Regions from separate parts of the Homo sapiens genome. Here region 1 is linked to region 2. The links are contacts of gene promoters, found by promoter capture Hi-C in human tissues and cell types (Jung and others, 2019). All regions are on one chromosome and are shown on one strand. The core of a region is centred on a gene start or on the middle of the fragment in contact, and the rest is flanking DNA. Distances in the headings are between cores, read along the strand shown.

Region 1 (6,597 bases), core at 1,918-4,417, 72 kb before region 2:
CTTTAGGAGGCCAAGGCAAGGAGATCACTTGAGCCCAGGAGTTCAAGACCAGTCTAGGCAACATGGTGAAACCCTGGGCAATATGGTGGGGAAAAAAAAAAAAAATTAGCCAGGCATGGCACCATGCCTGTATCCCAGCTACTCAGGAGGCTGAGGTGGGAGGATTGATTGAGCCTGGGTGGTCAAGGCTGCAGTGAGCTGTGATCACACCTCTGTACTCCAGCCTGGGTGACATAATGAAATCCTTTCTCAAAAAAATATATGTATCATTTTAGTTCCTAAGCAGTATTGTTTTTATGTTGTTTGTATCTTTGAAGGAGTCCTATTATAGCCAACAGTTTCCTGTTTTGTAGGTGGTAAGATATTGCTTGATAATGTTTTATGTATCACTTGTGAAGAAATGAAGTCATTTACTTAGCCAGCATTTACTGTGACTGTTACGTGCCCAAAGCTGAGATCAATGCCATTGATAGAAAGACTCAGACATGATCTCTGCCTCCTGGAATTGTTTCTAGTAGGAGATGTGAGTGCTGTAAATTTGCCAGTGGTAGCTGGAGCACAGTCAAGTGGGAAGAGCCAAAGCTGACACCCTGGTAGCATAGGGGACAAGGGAAGGCAACAGCAGGGAACAGGATGGAAGCTGGAGAGAATGCCATTCCACATGTCCATGGAGGGAAGTTTCAAGGAGAAGAGAAGAGGACAGGGTGATGGAACCTGGTTGTTTAGCAGGGTGCCAGTGGAAGCAGTTCTCCCGCCTTACCGTTCATTTGAGGCTCAGTTTCCACAAAGTACTCATTTAAAAAGCCAGGAATCTTAAATATAGAGAGAGGCTAGATATGGTGGCTCACACCTTTAATCTCAGCACTTTGGGAGGCCGAGGTGGGCGGATCACTTGAGGTCAGGAGTTTGAGACCAGCCTGGCCAACATGGTGAAACGCCGTCTCTACTAAAAATATAAAAATTAGCTGGGCGTGGTGGCATGCACCTGTAATCCCAGCTACTCGGGAGGCTGAGACAGGAGAATCACTTGAACCTGGGAGGTGGAGCTTGCAGTGAGCCGAGATCATGCCATTGCACTCCAGCCTGGGCAACAGAGCGAGACTCCGTCTCAGAAAAATAAATAAATAGAGAGAAGGGATGGCAACTAACGATGGAAGCCATTCTTTTAGCAAGAGACAGTGAGATCATTTTATATATAAAGTAAATGAAGGAGCAGCATCTCTTTTGTTTTCCTGTTTTCCTTATGGAATTGATGACAACTCGGTAGGCCAGATCCTATCACACCCTACCTCTTGATTGGTTGTTAAGTATTTGTTCATGCTATTTCTTTTCTAAATTTTACATCTGCTTTAACCCTCAAGAGCAATTCTAGCCAACTGTTCATCATTAGGACTGATTATTTTGTTTGCTATAACCTATCGGCTGCTTTTTCTCTTTTTCTCTATGGCCATTATATAGCTTTGGAGTAATGCTTATTAGATTGTGAGAAAGGAAAGTAAAAATAAAAAAATTCAAATAGGTCAATTTGTGAATGTTCCGTCCTACCAGTTGCTCAGGCGAATAAAAACCCATGAATCATCTTGATTCCTCTCCCCTGTCTCACTCCCTACCCCAGTCCACCTTCAGAGCAGACATGGAAAGAAACTCACCTCTTCTCCTTTCCTTTCCTGCTGCACCTGGTCTGAGCCTCCATCATTTTGTGATGGCCTCTTGTCTGGTCTTCAGGCTTCCACACTCAGCATCTCCCCAACCCCGCAGTGGACTCTCGTCAGAGCAGCAGTGGGAACCTAGTCAGAGCTGTCACTCCTCTGCCCAGTGCCCACAGACCCTCTGCCCACTCCCTTGCTTCTCTCAGCTCAGCTCCTGGGACTCTCCTCTCACTCGTTCTGCTCCAGCCTTTTTATAGTCCTCGGGCACTCTTGACATGTTATCCACTCCTGGGCCTGTGTGCCTTCCCCCAGCCTGAGGCACTCCTTCCTCAGAAATCTCAGCTTCCTCAGGCCCTGCTCACATTCCACCTTCTCTGGCCACACAACTCGAAGCATGGAGTCCCCACCCTCTGCTGCACTCCCCTCTCCACCTCAGCTGGCCTGCCTTTCTCCATCCACCTCAGCAAATTTGCTGTTTCCTTATTAATGTATTCTCTCTCTCTCCTTCCCAACAGAAGGTAAGCCCACTGAGGGAAGACTTCAGTCTATTTTGTTCCCTCCGGTGCCAACTGGGATGGGTGCCTGGCACACAGGGGGCCTTCAGGAAATACCGATTGACCTTTCACCTGCTTCCTTAGCCTTTTTCTGGCTCTGGGCCCCAGAGTCCTCATCCCTATACTTAGCCCCCAAGAAGAGAAAGCACTTGCTGTTGGTCCCAACCTTCCTTCCTGCTCAGTCATCATCCTCATGCCCCTGACTCTGGGCCCAGGAGCCTCTCCTCGCCTTTGCTGTCTTTCCTTCCTTTGCTCTGCTGTCCCTGCCCTAGTAAGACACCTTCATTATATTCGAAGAGCAGTGATGAAGACTAACTTCTTTCCTTCAGTGAAGCATGTTCCTAGAGAGTGGTTTTCAGATACTTTTTCACTTATAAGGTGGATTCTTAAGTGGAAACATAGTTTATTTTTATTAGGTTGGTGCAAAAGTAATTGCAGTTTTTGCCATTTTTTTATGGCAAAAAACTGCAATTACTTTTGCACCAACCTAATAAAAAAGATTAAAGCTCTCAGCTGTTCTAGTTCAAAAGAAAAGGAGCCAGAGGCCACCCATGCTCACAGGGTCCTCACAGTAGCAGCTCTGCTGGACTCTCAGCTTGCTGAATAGTTAGAAAAAGGGAAAAAACCCACACTATTCTAAGCTAGTATGTACAACCCACATGACCATCCCAAAACTGTGTGACTTGTAGCTCCTGTCTCTTGGCATTGCCTGGCTGGCATATAGACAGTATTTGCTGCCTGTGGAACCCCCAGTCCTTTGGAGGCTGGTGATAACCTAGTTCACAGTTCTTCTGTAGGGTGGTAATAACCCAGAGTAACCTGCACCTGAGAATCAACCAGCTCTCCCTAGCAGGGGCATTCCTCACTTTATGTTTTTATAGTAACCCACTCAGATGTTTCCTTTTACTCTATATCATATATTTCAAATTTTAAAATCACTTAAATAAGTTGGAAACAATCAAAATGTACAGTAATAGAAGAGTGTTTAAGTAGTTCTGATACTTGCATGTAGTAGAAACAATGACTAAAGGGTGGGCATGGTGGCTCACAGTTATAATCCCAGCACTTTGGGAGGCTAAGGCAGGAGGATCACTTGAGCCCTGGAGTTCAAGACCAGTCTGGGCTACATGGTGAGACCTCGTCTCTACAAAAAATTTAAAAATTAGCTGGGTGTGGTGGTTTGCACCTGTAGTCTCAGCTACTTGGGAAGCTGAGGCAGGAGGTTTGCCTAAGCCTGGGTGGTCAAGGCTGCAGTGAACCATGGTCACGACAGTGATACTCCAGCCTGGGCAACAGCAAGACCCTATCTCAAGGCCAGGCACAGTGGCTCACACCTGTAATCCCAGCACTTTGGGAGGCTGAGGCGGGTGGATCACCTAAGGTCAGTAGTTGAAGACCAGCCTGGCCAACATGGCAAAACCCTGCCTCTACTATAGAAAAAACAGCCGGGCATGGTGGTACATGCATGCAATCCCAGCTACTTGGGAGGCTGAGGCAGGAGAATCGCTTGAACCTGGGAAGCAGAGGTTACAGTGAGCCAAGATCACGCCACTGCACTCCAGCCTGGGCGACAGAGCAAGACTCCATCTCAAAAAAAAAAAAAAAAAAAAATTAATCTCATGCTGACTGCAGAGGCACCCAAGGATGAGGAAAGGCTGGTACACGTTATTTTCCTGTTGAGGGGACAACCCTGGGCAACCTTAACAAGGGCTGCCTTCTCAATGCTTCTCTAAGATTGTACCTCAGAAGAACTGATGGGTTCTCCTGATATAAAGCTTGTGACCCATGGGTCTGGGAAACCTGGAGATGAGACTGTAGGCTTCTCCTAAAAGGAATGAAAATGAGAGTCTTGCCCAGATTTTAAAGATATATTGTTGGAGAACTATGCAGCAACATGGTCACACTACAAGGCTTTTCACTTCCAAGCATGGTTGTTAATATCTTTTCTTGACAAGTGAAAAATCCCTTTACAGAAAAAGTTACTCATCCCCTGCTATTGATAGAAGTTTAAGGGTTCTTTCTGTCTAATCCTGGAGAGATTAGAAGCAGGCCCAGCTGTGAAACATTTGCAGAACCATCAGCCCTGACTGCTGTCTGTCTGCTTGAATCTCTAAGCAGCATATTCTAAGTAAGAATAATCTTACAGAAAAAGCAAACAGCACTTAAGAAAGTGATCAGTATTATAGGCCATGATAACTAACTGCTATGACCATTTCTGTTTTTTACTGTCTAGTTTATGGAAATTTTATAGTACCTACTTTTCTATGCAGTGTTTAAGGGTGATTAAATGTAAGATATTTGGACATTTTAAACCAATGAAGTATTTTAAATAGACTGGTTCAGGGACACGACCATGGCAGTTTTGCTTTATTCACGTTGTTAAATGGGCTTGCTGAGTAACTCATGTGTTGGTCTAGATGTAGCACATTGAATCCACTTATCAAAACACTGTATCCCTAAGCACTTGCCACCTGTGGGAGAAAGTATTTGAGACACTGAGTTCTGCCTAGAGTTGTATACTTTGTAGACCTGAACTGAAGCCCCTGATGGAATAAGAGAGTTGTAACCTCAGGCAGAGGGGAGGGAACAGACAGGGGGCTGGTGAGGTAGGAGAGTAAGAGTGAAGAGAACCTGTCCTCCTCAGGATCCTGGTTTTCTGTGAGCCTGCTTTTATCTGGGAAATCTTTAGACAGCATTACTTCCCAAGGGTTAAACTTTAGGTGGGTCCTAAAACTAGGGGTTTTATATTCTTCATTTTCTCCTTCCTTCAGTCACTAACAGCTGCTAGGTAAGGCAATATAAGAGCTTTTTTAAATTTATGTTATTTTTAGCCCTTTACTGCTAAAAACATTAACAAATACTTTTAGAGATCCATGTGACAGTAACTCAAAAGATTTAACAATGATGGCTATTGGCGTGTCTTCCAAACGTATAATTTGGCCTTTGTGGGTGGCATTTTCAGTGTTGTGAGTGCACAGTTAGGGCCCCAACATGTAAGAATATATTTACATTGTGTGTTCTTTTGTTTGGTTATGACAATATTTGTTCTTATGACAATATTTTTATTTTCTATATAATAGGTTAAAGGTTATTGAAAATGAATTGATACAGGCATCAACAAAGAAATTTTCTTTGGAGAAGTTATATAAAGAGCCCAGCATTTCTAGTATACAAATGGTGGATTGTTGTAAGAGACTTCTAGAACAATCACTGCCTTACCTACATGGGATGCACCTCTGCATTTCACATTTTTACTCTGTTATGCAAGATGGAGACCTTTGTATTCCTTGGAATTGGAAGAATGGAGAAGCCATTAAGTAACACAGAAATCTGTTTTATTTTTTTAAGAGATAAGAAAGGAACTTAAATTAAAAATATTTAAATCCACAATTTGATATAACAGTATTATTTACATAAGAACAAAGTTTCTAACTGCTGCTTTAAAAGTAGACTTTTTTAAAAAAATTAATTTCTGCTAGGAGAGGTTTTATATGCCAGGCGTGGTGGCTCATGCCTGCGGTCCCAGCTACTTAGGGAGGCTAAGATAGGAGGATCACTTGAGCCCAGGAGGCCAAGGTTGCAGTGGGCCCAGATTGCACCATTGCCCTCCAGCCTGAGCAACAGAACAAGACCTTGTCTCAAAAAATAATAATGATAATTTAAAATAAATAAGTAACTAATAAAAAGATTTTATATCCCAGTCTTATGATGTTGGTTGGCAAGGCTAGATAAAAAGATGTTAGAATGAAAGAACATATTTTTAGTGATATGTAAATGAAGGATTCTACAATAGTCATATATTTTTATATGAATGAATGTTGGGTTGGGCTGGAGAGGTATGTGTGTGTAAATATAAAGGTCTCACATTCAGAGTATAGCTCTGAAATAATGGAACTCATGTCTACAATTCAACATGCATCTGTATAGTTACATCTCATGTAAATATACACAGACATATTTTGCAGCCAGTAATTGACAGTTAATGTCCAAAACAGGTGATTGATAGGTAACAGAAATTAGATAACCACCAATTTTGCCCAAGAGAAAGACTAGAAGGACTAAAAGCAGTTGAATGTATGGTACTGACATTGTCATAAGCAGTCTGATAACCAGTTTATTGAAACGTGTGCATTAACAGAGAATTTAATTTTAAACCCATAATTTCTCCTATCCATTAAAATATTATAATTGTTAGTAGTATGAAACCAACAGGAAATGTTTTTTAATCATTTAGTGAGGTGATTCATTTGTTTCATGGGCAAACACTATCCAGGAAAAGCCTTGCTTGCCTGTTTCCCAAAGAGCTCTAAGAAATAGAATCAAGTGTAAAATGGTTCAGACCATTCAGGATTTCTTGTCACTCTTCTCAACCACGATCTTCCTGTTATTACTGA
Region 2 (6,525 bases), core at 715-3,214:
TATAAAACAAGAGGCGGGCACGGTGGCTCACGCCTGTAATCCCAGCATTTTGGGAGGCTGAGGCAGGCAGATCACCTGAGGTCGGGAGTTCGAGACCAGCCTGACCAATACGGTGAAACCCCGTCTTTACTTAAAATACAAAAATTAGCTGGGCGTGGTGGCACACACCTGTAATCCCAGCTACTTGGGAGGCTGAGGCAGGAGAATCACTTGAACCCAGGAGGCGGAGGCTGCAGTGAGCCGAGTTTGCACCACTGCACTCCAGCCTGGGCAACAAGAGTGAAACTCCGTCTCAAAAATAAAATAAATAAAATAAACAAGGAAAAAGAAAATAAATTTAAGAATAGGAAGGAAAAAAAGAAATTCATAAATTCAATCTTACAGAACACCTAACAATTCGCCTGAGAGTCACAGAAATGTACTCTTTCACATTGTTTCTAATACAAAATCTTGAAAATTGCAAAATACAGTGTTATGTTTTACTATAGTTTACTCTCTGACATCGTAGACTGCTTATGCACTAATTCTTCCTGGATACCGGAAGCCAGAGAAAACCTAGCGGTGGAATACTTGCCATTTTTCATGCTTTTTGTCAGTTTCCTTTTTAAGTGCATACTGAGGTTTATCTTCAAAACATTCTCATCTTTTCGGCTTACAGTAAGACTTTTTTTTTTTTCTAACCAAAATGTGTCTGCCTTTCATTAAGATAACATAAAAGAGCAGCCTAATTCTTTGGTCCCTGAATATGCACACACATGCATGCACACACACACACGCAGACACACACACAACACATGGAGGCTCTCTGAAACTGCTTAATCAAATTACTGCTCAAACCACTCCCTGGCACTTCCTTGCAAAACAACCAACCTAATACTGAGTTTTTAGTTTTGCACTACAAGCCGTTTGAAACAGAATAACATTCTTTCCTGGCCACCACTTTTAAATTCGGAAGGAGACAATACTCTGATCTCTTAGGCCTGTGCAAGTCAGAGTGTGCTACAATCGCTGCAGGTTAGAGCTCTGCCTTTGTTTAAAAACTGCATTTTATATACTAGTTACTTCATTGTGAAAGATAACCACCCTGACAAACAAGATTTTGCTATTTTTCTGCACAAATGTCACTTCACCATTTAGAGCTTCATGCAAATGTGTCTCCTACAGAAAATAAACTGCAAACACGATTTCTTAATTATCCTCGCCAAAAAAAAAATGTTTTAGTGGTGTCATAATGCCAGCACTAATTTTAGCCAAAATAAGAACAAATGCATTCTACAAATTCAGGAGATTATAATTTTTAAAAAGCAGTAGTATGGATATACTTAATGTCACTGAATTACACACTTCCAAATGGTTAAATGGTAAACGTTTATGTATTGTATGGTAAATGTTATGTGTTATTTTGGCACAATATTGTTTCCTCACAATAATACTAACAGGTTTTTTAAAAAGCAAGAGCACGCTCTCATTTCGTAATATATATTTATGGATGTCAGTGTGCAGAATTATGCACAGATATTTTAAATGTCAGGAGGCCTGGAGACAGATTTCAGGATTGCGGCTACTTTTACTTTTCTTCTACTTTCCCGTGTTATCTAATTGTCTCTGATAAATACGCTTTATATGCAGAATTGGATGAAACGAGAAAGCCCGGAGAAACCCGGGCTCCAGATTCTCTACCCCGGACGCCTGGGAGGCAAAGAGGTTCTAGATACGCCCTCAGCGTGGCGGGGGCGGGATCCACCGCCAGACCCCCGCCACGGGCGCAGCCTCCAGGCCGGGCCCCGTCCGCCGCCCGGGCAGGCCCGAGAATGCCGCGGACTTCGGGGAGCCCCGCGCCCGCAATGCCGCCACCCCCACCCCCGCGCCCCGCCAGGCCTCTCACCGACTCCCGCCGCCGAGCGACAATCGGTCCACCCGCCGCCACCGCAGCCGCCCGTCCCGCGCCTACCTCCCGGCGGCTCCAGTCGCGCACGCGCGTCGGCGCCCGGGGCCCTCCGCGGCCTCTCTAGGAAACTGGGAGGCCCAACGTCTCTGCTTCTCTCCGGCTCCGGTGCGGCGGGCGGCGGGGCTTGTCCAACATCCCTCACCTCCCTCAGTTGGACATTTCCCTTCCACGCTCGGATGCCCAGCCGCGCCTGTTTTCTTGCATCCCTCCTGTCGTGTCTGCGGGGCTGCCCTGAAGGCCTCTTTCCCTCCAGGGAAGAAAGGGATCCAAAGCTAGGGGTGAAAATAGGGCCAGCAGTATCTAGCAGACTGGTCCTGGCCAGGAGAAGGGGTTAAGGGAGCCACTCATTCTTCGCCTGGGTACACTTCAAAGAGGGGAACCAGATCCTACGGGAAGCTAGGTGCCAGAACTCCTGCCTTTCCAAGACGAGCTCATCCCCATCATCACCATACCCAGGAATACTTGTTCATAGCCAGCTCAGAGGTGCACCATACTTTAGCTTCCCACGGCCTTCACTCGTTTTCTCCTGTGGGTGAATTCTAACTAGGCTCGCCTGGTGAGTGAACAATGATGCCATTGCCCAATAATATGTGGAATCTGGGAGGAGTAGGTTGGGGGTAGGGGGTGGAGGGGCTGCTTGAAGAGGAGGTGAAGCAACCTGGAGAGGTTGCCCACCCCCTGTAGGAGCAAATGTCATCTATTGCCAGTGCCAGAGAACCTTGAGGGTGCACAGCCAAAGCCATAAGGCCATCTGCTGCCATTGGAGGGCATGCTACAAGCTGCTGTCCTGGTAGTCCTCTGGTTTGTGCTTCCTAGTGGCAGGCTGCAACATGTTGACGATTGATCTTTCAGATGGGCATTGATGATGCCCATCTGTGCCCTGAGGCTTTGCTTTACTCATCTGATCCACCCCTTTTTAATGCCCCAGTCACCAAAGATGGAAACAGAGAATAGATCCTGAACACCAGGAAGATGGTGACAAGGTGATAGAGAAACAGATGGCACATTCAAACAAGGTAAGTGGGGAGAGTTCACAAGGGGCGATTTACACAAAGTGGACAGGGTTAAGGAAATGCAACACGGAGTGGTGCAGAATCCCATGGCTAGCAAAATTTAGAAGCTATTCTCACCCCTAGGAGCAGGCCATCTGAGAGAAACTGTGGCTTTCAGTTGAGGGCTACATCCAAGCCATAGTCCAGCACAAAGGAAGCTGAGGTAATAAATAACCTGAACCCAGCTCTCTTCTGATCTCCTGCCAGGGCTTCCCATTGGCCCAACTCAACTGGAAGCCAGAGGGCAATCCAGGAAACTCAGTCTCCCAAGTGTCACAGCAGGGTTGAGGACTGAGACTGAATATGGAGGGGCAATTGGAAAATATCCAACACATACAAAAAGGAAAATAGAAACTGCTTGTCAATGCCTAATTTGTCCATTAATTTCCACTCGATATAATGTTCTTGAGTGACTCAGAACCACCCATAGTGGTGAGAAGAGTTTTCAAGTTTTGTTTGAGAACAAAATTTTCCCATCGTAGAAGAGTTTGAGCAGGTTCTCTGTGTTTGGGATGTACTTACTGGATGTTTTTCAACGTGATAGGTGGTTAGCATGGATAGCACCCACATTTAGTGTGATCAAACAGATCAACCAAATTGGCTTCACCAGCACTTGCAAAGTTCGGGAAGCAGCCACTGGGAGTGCAGCTCTGATTTTAAGACCTATACAGCTTCTTGAATCTCGAAGTTCTGCTAATACCTGATTTCTCCGAGTGCCACAGCACTCGAGCCTATAACCATGAGGTTTCTTCACTTTTCTGGTAGGAGGCATATTCTTGCTAGCTGTACTTCCTGAGCACTGTACTCTTTCAGATCGGGGCAGTTTGCTTAGTAAAAGCCCTAGGTAAGATTCTCAAATTCTCATGTGCATATGAATACAAATCACTTGGGATCTGGTTAAACTGTAGATTCAAATTCAGGAGGTCTGGGGAGGGACCAACGAATATTTTTAACAAACTTCCAGGTGTACCCATATTGCAGTTCTTGGACCACACTTGGAGAAGCAAAGAACTGTGCATGTAAATCAGTGGTTCTTAACTTTGCTGCAGATTAGAATCCTCCTCAGAGCTTTTAAAAAGTCCATACCTCATATCAATTCAATCCAAATCTTTGTGGGTGAGACACTGACAAGCCTAGATTTTAAAATCCCTAGATGATTCCAACATTTGAGAACCTGGAAGTAGATAATTATCCTTTTACCCTGATTCCTTGCTACATGTAAAAACCACATGCTAAAGGATTGCATGTTCATTTGCTTCTTTGTTTTGGAATTTAAAGTGTATCAGGATTCTGCCTTTCAAACAGAAGGGGGAAATTTCCTCCTTAATTTTTTTCTTCTTATTTTGAAATGGGGAAGAAAAAATTGGGGTGTTGAGATGGGGATCTGGAATGTGACTTGAGAAAAGAGATAAGATGTTAAAACTAAGAATCAGTTGTGGGCAAACAAATTGGCCTGGTAGGATTTTCACTCCTTTTCTGGCCTCAAACTCAGCCCCTTCTCTGTAGTTTGAAGGAGGCAGGTTGAAATATTAGGATGAAAATAAAATAGAGCAATGTATCTGAGGATGGTGATTACTGTGATCCATTGGATTAGTGTACTCTTCTATAAGAAAAACATAAAACAAATGTTTAAGCAGTTAAATTATGTGTAATTGTGGCCATTTGAAATATATTACATATTATATCATATAATTAATCTTCTCTGAATTCCCCCTTCTGCCTCTAATTCTAAGATATTGAAAAATACATTTTAATGAGATTTTAGAAGGTGATCCAACTTTAAATGAATTTTAAAATTATCATTTATATCAAAGAAATACTGATGCATTTAGTACTAATGAAGGACTTAAAATGAAAAATTGAACTCAACTCCCTCCTCCACCCTCCATCTTTTTCTGCAGAGGATATTCCTTGCATCTGAACATAAAAGTAGAGAAAGAGAGAGGATCAGGAAGCCAGGAGAGAATATACACGAATTTAAACTTTATTGGTAGTGGAGGGGGTGAAAGAATCTTTGAGTCAGACCATAGCCATGAGGAAGAAAAACTATGGAATCTTTGCTTTTATGCATTGCTATACCTCAAGTACTTAGAACAGCACTGACTACATAGTATGTACTCAATAAACATTTGTTGACTAATCAATCTTCTCTATGTCTAACCCAGGCCCTTAGGAGGTCTCTATTGTGATAATAGCCAAATCCTCAAACAGGCCAGATTTAGCTGGCATGATAACGAAGGCCCCTCCGCTTTAATCCTTACAAGGAAAGTAATCTGAAATAACTAATGCCAACCAGTCTGCCTTTGGTTCCCTATTTTTGCTTTCTTTGGCCTTTTTCTGCTTATAAAGCCAATCTCCTCTGTTCAGCTTATCAGAATACCCGTTCTATTTTATAGAATGAGATGTTGCCCGAATCTAGAATCACTAACAAAACCTAATTTGGTCTTTATTATTTATTTATTTATTTATTTATTTATTTTTGAGACGGAGTCTCACTCTGTCACCAGGCTGGAGTGCAGTGGCACGATCTCAGCTCACTGCAACCTCTGCCTCCTGGGTTCAAGTGATTCTCTTGCCTCAGCCTCCTGAGTAGCTGAGATTACAGGCGCCCACCACCACACCCAGCTAATTTTTGTATTTTTAGTAGAGACAGGGTTTCACCATGTTGGCCAGGCTGGCCTTGAACTCCTGATCTCAGGTGATCCACACACCTCAGCTTCCCAAAGTGCTGGGATTACAGGCGTGAGCCGCTGCACCTGGCCTAATTTAGTCTTCAAACTAAATTTGTCGTAATTTCATCTTTTGACAACTGCTTCTGTCCTGCCTTTTTTTCACTTGCCATTCTAATGTCAAGTGTTTTTTATCACATCACTAAATAATCTTCAAAATTTTATTTTTCCTCAGGGCCCTGAAGTGATCCTCCTCCTGTTCACTGACACCCGTTGCCAAGAGAGAGAGAGAAAAAGAGAGAGAGAGAGAAGCAGGAAGAGAGGAGAGGGTGCTGGCCTTATTAGAGAAAGAATGTAAGGGGAAAGAAAACAATCATGTTAGCTTTGATTTCTGTAATAAGTCTGTATCACAGACAGGCTTAGAAAGCAAAGCTTTGGCATTACAAGAGCCCATGAGGGAGCAAAGCTCTCTTATAGAAAGTCTGAGGCCAGGCACAGTGGCTCACATCTGTAATCCCAGCAATTTGGGAGGCCGAGGCGGGCGGATCACGAGGTCAGGAGATCGAGACCATCCTGGCTAACACGGTGAAACCCCGTCTCTACTAAAAATACAAAAAAATTAGCTGGGCGTGGTGGCGGGCGCCTGTAGTCCCAGCTACTCGGGAGGCTGAAGCAGGAGAATGGCGTGAACCCGGGAGGCGGAGCTTGCAGTGAGCTGAGATCACGCCACTGCACTCCAGCCTGGGCGGCAGAGCAAGACTCCGTCTCAAAAAAAAAAAAAAAAAGAAAAGAAAAAAAAGAAAGTCTGGAGGTGGAAGTTCCGAGACTTGACACAACTAATAGAATTAGTTCATGA

Evidence for each region. Contacts are between HindIII fragments. The study calls those that stand out against the background at their distance.
Region 1: a contact is called between a fragment that was not itself captured here and the fragment with the promoter of ZNF445 in region 2, in 2 of the 25 tissues and cell types used here (H1 embryonic stem cells and spleen).

The regions. Positions count from the first base shown.
Region 1 is chr3:44,402,159-44,408,755 of GRCh38, forward strand. TCAIM (T cell activation inhibitor, mitochondrial) reads left to right here. Exons shown (of 11, transcript NM_173826.4): 11 at 5,284-6,597. The coding sequence ends at 5,524. Among named protein-coding and RNA genes, the nearest start is that of LINC01988, 22 kb to the right of the region's middle. The HindIII fragment of the contact is 8,371 bases long and covers 1-6,597 here.
Region 2 is chr3:44,475,706-44,482,230 of GRCh38, forward strand. It overlaps ZNF445 (zinc finger protein 445), which reads right to left and starts at 1,965. Exons shown (of 8, transcript NM_181489.6): 1 at 1,886-1,965. It overlaps LOC101928529 (a long non-coding RNA gene), which reads left to right and starts at 1,985. Exons shown (of 4, transcript XR_940785.4): 1 at 1,985-2,504; 2 at 2,877-2,964; 3 at 5,905-6,023. RefSeq lists silencers at 1,713-1,762, 1,783-1,942. The HindIII fragment of the contact is 14,864 bases long and covers 1-6,525 here.